2 separate regions of the Homo sapiens genome follow, and region 1 is linked to region 2. Evidence: promoter capture Hi-C in human tissues and cell types (Jung and others, 2019). All regions are on one chromosome and are shown on one strand. Each heading gives the region's core, a stretch centred on a gene start or on the middle of the fragment in contact. The rest is flanking DNA. Distances are from core to core; before and after follow the strand shown. Region 1 holds the start of LOC124901207 (small nucleolar RNA U13). Region 2 holds the start of RBM22 (RNA binding motif protein 22).

The links. The method cuts DNA at HindIII sites, captures the fragments that hold promoters and counts their contacts. A contact is called where the count stands out against the background at its distance.
Region 1: a fragment that was not itself captured here is called in contact with the fragment with the promoter of RBM22 in region 2 in 1 of the 25 tissues and cell types used here (psoas muscle).

The regions. Positions count from the first base shown.
Region 1 is chr5:150,027,039-150,030,525 of GRCh38, forward strand. HMGXB3 (HMG-box containing 3) reads left to right here. Exons shown (of 20, transcript NM_014983.3): 9 at 1-79. LOC124901207 (small nucleolar RNA U13) reads right to left here and starts at 2,414; the gene lies at 2,311-2,414. The HindIII fragment of the contact is 3,972 bases long and covers 248-3,487 here.
Region 2 is chr5:150,699,400-150,702,499 of GRCh38, forward strand. RBM22 (RNA binding motif protein 22) reads right to left here and starts at 1,663. Exons shown (of 11, transcript NM_018047.3): 1 at 1,533-1,663; 2 at 1,045-1,098. The coding sequence starts at 1,586. RefSeq lists enhancers at 905-1,681, 1,682-2,458. The HindIII fragment of the contact is 5,081 bases long and covers 1-2,959 here.

The sequences.
Region 1 (3,487 bases), core at 984-3,483, 670 kb before region 2:
GACTTGTGGTCTGAAGCCAAGCACACTGAAGCAGCTGGGCCAGCCCATTCAACAGCCATCTGGCCCTGGTGAGGTGAAGGTAAGGCCCATTTTCCAGAGTGGGAGCTGTTTGAGGGTCTGGCTGCTTCCATGTAATGTATCAAAGCTATAGGTAAAGGCACATCCCATTTCTTACACGTTGGCAGACCTCTGGGTGGAGGTTAACATGAATGATTTATCTGTTTTTTAAGTAATTTCTTAAAACTTAAGTGAATACATGTTTTTAAACCTTTTACTTAGAAATAATTTATAACTTAGAAAAAAGTCACAAAAATAAAAATAGTACAGAGAACACCCATATACTCTTTACCCATAGTGACCTATTGTTAATGTATTAGCCCATTTTGCTTTATCTTTTATGTTCATGTGTGTCCCCCCACCATATGTGGGTGTGTACACATTGCATGTGTGTAAAATACACATTATAGGGTAAGTTATGCCTTTATGCTTGTTTGTGTATTTCATAAGAATAGGGATTTTTTTTTTTTTTGGTGGCAGTGTCTCACTCTGTCACCCAGGCTGGAGTGCAGTGGCACAATCTTGGCTCACTGCAACCTCCACCTCCTGGGTTCAAGTGGTTCTCCTGCCTCAGCCTTTCCTGAGTAGCTGGGATTACAGGAGCACACCACCACGCCCGGCTAACTTTTGTATTGTTGGTAGATATGGGGTTTCACCATGTTGGCCAGGCTGGCCTTGAACTCCTGACCTCAAGTGATCCACCCACCTCGGCCTCCCAAAGTGCTGGGATTACAGGGGTGAGCCACCACGCCTGGCCTAGAATAGGAATATTCTTTTACTGAAACATTGATGTATACCTTTACTCTCCCATTCATATTCCAAATTGTGTCAATTCGACCTGTGAACCCTGAAAATCTGAGACAGGTCTCAGTTAATTTAGAAAGCTTATTTTGCCAAAATTGAGGACATGCACCTGGGACACAGCCTCAGGAGGTCCTGATGACATGTGCCCAAGGTGGTCAGAGCACAGTTTGGTTTTATACATTCTAGGGGGACATCAGTCAACATACACAAGATGAACATTGGTTCAGTCTGGAAAGGCAGGACAACTGGAAGCAAAGGCAGGAAGACTCAAAGCAGGGAGGGGACTTATAGGTTATAGGTAGATAAGAGACAAGTGGTTGCATCCTTCTGAGTTTCTGATTAGCATTTCCAAAGGAGGCAGTCAGATATGCATTTATCTCAGTGAGCAGAGGGTGACTTTGAATAGAATGGGAGGCAGGTTGGCCCTAAGCAGTTCCCAGCTTGACTTTTCCATTTAGCATAGAGATTTGGGGGCCCCAAGATTTATTTTCTTTTCACAGACCCGATTTTATATATATATATATGTATATATATATATGTATGTGTGTGTATATATATATGTATATATATGTGTGTTTGATATATATATGTATATATATGTATGTATGTGTGTGTGTGTGTGTGTGTGTGTGTGTGTGTGTGTATATATATATATATATATTTTTTTTTTTTTTTTTTTCCTCCAGAAACAAGGTCTTGCTTTGTTGCCCAGGCCGGAGTGCAGTGGTGCAATCATAGCTCACTGCAGCCTCGAACTCCTGGGCTCAAGGAATCCTCCCAACTCAGCCTCCTGAGTAGCTGGGTACACAGGCAGGCACCACCATACCAAGCTAATTTTTAAATTTTTTTTGTAGAAACGGGGTCTCTTGCTATGTTGCCCAGGCTGATCTCAAACTCCTGGCCTTAAGCGATCCTCTTCCCTCCTCGGCCTCCCAAAGTACTGGGATTACAGGCATTAGCCACCTCCCCAGTGTCTTCTTTATTTTATTGTATATTTTTAAAGCCCCTCCTATTCTAGCACAGTTCCTTTATATAGCATATTTTTCTCCAGTCTGTGATCCAGTCTAGGATCAGATATTAACGTTTAGTTGTCATGTCTCTTTAGCTTCCTTTTAAAAATGAATGCATGGTTGTAGAAAATATAGAAAATTCAGGTAAAGGAGAAAGAAAAGTCCCTCATGATCCTGCCACCCAGAATGACCATCCGATGTGCTTTCAGGTCTTTTCCTGAATTTGTGTGTGTTTATTTTTTAATACAGTTTTTTAAAAATCAGAAACTTGGCTCTTACTCCATATACTAGTTTGTGGCTTATATTTTTCACTTCATTTAGTGATACAGATATTAAAAATTTTCTGTGTGTCCAAATTCCATGGATTAGTGGGGTTGGTTGGTTGGTTTTTTGGCTATATGTAGCTAGAATAGTTATCAAGTTTTTTTTTTTTTTTTCATGTCAAATGGGTAATGTGCTGACGTTATAATGAGGTTTGAGGGAGGCACATCTCACCCATGTGCATGAATACCAGATTGTCATACTTGTGAGCTATAAAAGGATCTCTCAAAATTTCCTAAGTTAGCATTTTTCAAGCTTTTGATCATGACCTTCAGTAACAGGCATATTTTTTATTACTGCCCAGTAAACATATATACTAAAGGTTTAATGAAGCTGTGCCCTTACTATATGCAGTCACTTTTTTTTTCTCATTCCTATTTGCAAAATCCTGGTTTCAACCCATTAAATTAATGTTATGACCCCTCATTGGATTGTGACCTGTAGTTTGAAAACTGTGTCATGGACCAGGTTGGAATAGGAAAACGGGTCTGCCATCTCCCCTGTCATGTGTTCTTTGTCAGTTAACTTCCTTTCTTTAACAGTTTTACATTTGCCCTGACAGGAATATCAACTGGCTTTTACTTTGAGAACTGTTTTGTTTTCCACACAGATGTGGCAGCTCTGGGTGTATGTGTGATCTTGCGGTGTAGAAGGAAGGTATCTGGTTAGCGTCGGTAGTTTTGTATATTTCCAGCCCCTAGATTCCCTTCATGTACACTCTGTTACTTGGGTAAACCCCAGTCTTCTCTGTAAATAGTTTCCTTTTGATTGGTGACATTGGGTATTTGTTAAAAGCCACAAGCTCTTTTACTAGTCTTAAACCAGTAAAGAGGTACATGAGATATTCAGAAAATCAACTTAAATTCATTATTATAGAATAATTTTAATTTTGTATGCTTTATCTTTTCTTTCTTTTTTTTAGCTATATAAGTAAAATATACATTCCTTATAAAACATTTGAGGCCAGGCATGGTGGCTCTTGCCTGTAATCCCAGCACTTTGGGAGGCTGAGGTGGGAGCATTGCTTGAGTCCAGCAGTTCAAGACCAGCCTGGGCAACATAGTGAGACCCACATCGCTACCAAAAAAAAAGCAAATTTTGTAGATAGTGGTAAAGAGGGAGAAACAACCATGATTGTCCTCTTACCCTGTGACATTTTAGTGAATAGTCTTTCAGACATCTTTCTATGCAAAGTTGTTCAACCATGTATTTATATGTATAAAAGCTATTATGTGCTTTTATAACTCAGTAGTAGTTGTAAATCTGATTCATGGTGTTTCTAATACATGGTATTA
Region 2 (3,100 bases), core at 413-2,912:
GCAACAACAAAACCCAAAACCCAACCTTTTTTGGGAAGAGGGTAGGGAACATACTATAACAACATATTATAAGTGATAACATCTCAAGAGTATATGGATCTGGGCTGGGTGGCAGTGGCTCACGCCTGTAATCCCAACACTTTGAGAGGCCAAGGTGGAAGGATTGCTTGAGCCCAGGAGTTCCAGACTAGCCTGGGCAACATAGCGAGATGCTGTCTCTACAGAAAAAAGAAATAGAGTATATGCATCTAATGCTAGGTAAGTGAGTGTCTTTCCACAGCCACAACTCTTAGGTTCATTTTTGGCTCCCAAGTTCACTCCCAAGAACTAACATTCCTAATGCTTTCCACAATCCCTAAATCAGAGAGGATACAGCTGTGGCCCGCCCACTTTACAAAGTTTAGTCAAAAGGTAGCTACTGTAGACTTGTCCTGTGCCAATGCCCGGAATATAGTAAATGTTCTGTTTAAACAGAACTATTCAAACATCTTGAACCATTCAAACATCGTGAACATACTAACATATCAACACCTCTACGACTACACAATAATACAGCCCTAACCTTATTATTGTTAACTGGTTCTAATTTTACCCTAGTTTGTAACAAAGGGGGAATGCTTACTTTAAAGAGATAAAGTACACTGGCCAAAAGGCATTTGACCAGGATTCAGGAAACCTAGTTTCTAGTTCTGGTTCTCCTCCTATCATGCTGACATTCCTAGAGCCAGAATATGTGAACTTAAATCCCAGCTCCATTCCTTACTATTGTATGAAAAGACACAAACGCTCTCACCTTCTGGTCAACAGACCTATTTCCTAGGTAAATGCTCAACAAATACTAGCTATCGTTATTACCCCTACATTACAGGAGTGTTACCGGATTCGTAAGAGAATACACATGACAGTTCTTTGCAAGTCGTCCAGCACTTCGCGTTAGTAAAAGAGCATCATTTTTTCTGCTTGTCTAAGAGAAACACTTCACAGTGTGCAAGTACCACAACATCGACAGGACATGAATAACTCGTTTCACACGCGATCACTCACCATTCGGATATATGGGTTTTCTCCAAGACATGTCTGGCACAGAATGGGGAAGTCCTGGTGAAAATGGGAAATCTGGTTGAGGACCACCCTCCGAAGACCCTGACACCTCAGTGACACTTGGGGTGGCGAGGGGGCGGGAAGCGAGGGTGGGGAACTAGGCACGGCAGGAACCCGAAGTCCATCACGACCCGATCGCGGGAGGGGGCGCTGTCTGCACTTCCGGCAGGCGGCGGGAGAAAAGAAAACCAGCTCTAATAGGCTGGAGGGGGCAGGGATGGAAAGGGTGCTGGTCCCGGGACCCTGGCTAAGCCCCCTCCCTTCAAGCCCGCAGGAGGATCGCCCTCCGCCCTCCTGCTCCGGCCAAGCTAGGCCGCCGCGCTGGCTCCTCCCCGGTATTCCTTCGGCCGCGCCGCAGGCCCTGTCCTGCCAGCTTGCAAGGTGCGCGGCTTCGCCTCCTCCTTCCATCCTCCTCCGGCAGGCACACTCACCGCATCCTCCCAGTTCTGCCTGTTGTAGGTGTTGGAACCCAGAGAGGTCGCCATCTTGAGAGCGTCCGGAGGTAGCTGTAGCTTCCGAATTGGGAGAGAGGACCGCCACAATCCCGTCAAGCCCCGAGGCTAGCGCCGCGCCGGTCGGCGTCTTATTTACGCGTCTAGGGCTTCTTCCGGGGCGGGGCCTTTGCGTCATGACGTCGCCCGCTCTTGGAATTTCTAAGCTTAACAATTGGGGTCCTGGTATAATGCACCTGGATGCTTCCTTCGAGTTTTTGCCTGCTTGGAATGAAGGGCCACACGTACAGTTGATTCATTTAACAATTGGGCGAAAGAATAAAGGAAGACGTAATGCATCAGAGGCTGGGGTTAAAATAGCGTTCGCTACCACTGAGGCGCTTATTATGCCAAACTCTGGGCGAACGTCTTGCGGTTCCAGTGTCTTATTTATTCGCATAACCTCTCTGTAGGGCTCTCTGTAGGGCTGCCAGATTCTGATTCTGTCTCTCTCTCTCTCTCTCTCTCTCTCTCTCTCTCTCTGTCACTCACACACACACATGCACACACACACACGCACGAATTACAGAACGTCTAAAGTTGAATTTCAGATTAACGGCGAATCGCTTTTTAATTATAAATATATATGGTACCTACTCGTCCTAAAGTAGGATTCGTGGTTGACCTGAAATTCACATCACTTAACCAATCGTCCTGTATTTTATCTGGTAACTCTACCCTGTAGGCAAGTATGATGATCCCTCTTTTATAGAAAAGAAAACAGGTTTAGAGAGATTAACCTAATCTCTCCTGATATAGCTCCTGGTTGTGGAGCTAAAAAGTGGTGAAGCCACAAATTCATTAGTACTGTTTCATTTCCAGCTTCTGAAATGACAAGGGTCTTACGAATCAACATATGCATTATTTGATTTTTGGAATAACTCATAACCACTCTGCCAATATTTTATGAGTTTCAAGCCATTCTGGTACCACTTTCATACTTACCGTGTCATCAAGCTACCTAACACATTTATTTAAATCACCTCATTAAAAAAAAAAGTTGATTTAAAGTATAATTTACATAAAGTTTTATCCTTTTTAGTTTTGAATTTTGTACATACATTCACTTACAGTCAAATATGGAATTGTCTGTCATCCCCAAAGTTCCCTTGTTTCTGTAGTTAGTCCACTTATCCCATACTCAAACCATGGCAATCACTAATTTGTGTTCTGTCCCTAGTTTTGCCTTTTCCAGAATGTCACATAAGTGGAATCCTATATATCCTTTTGGATCTGATATTTTTTCACTTAGTATTTTGTAGTTGAGATTCATCCATATTATTACATGTATCAATAATTTCTTCCTTTGTATTACTGAGTAGAATTCCATTGTATGGATATATCATACAATTCACTTGCCAGTTGCTGGATATTTGGGTTGTTCCCAGATTTTAGTGAATATAAATAAAACCATTATAAACATTCACATACAGATCGTTGTATGGACATTGGTTTTCATTTTGCTTGTGTAAATGCCTTAGAGTGAGATTATTTGATCATATGGTAAG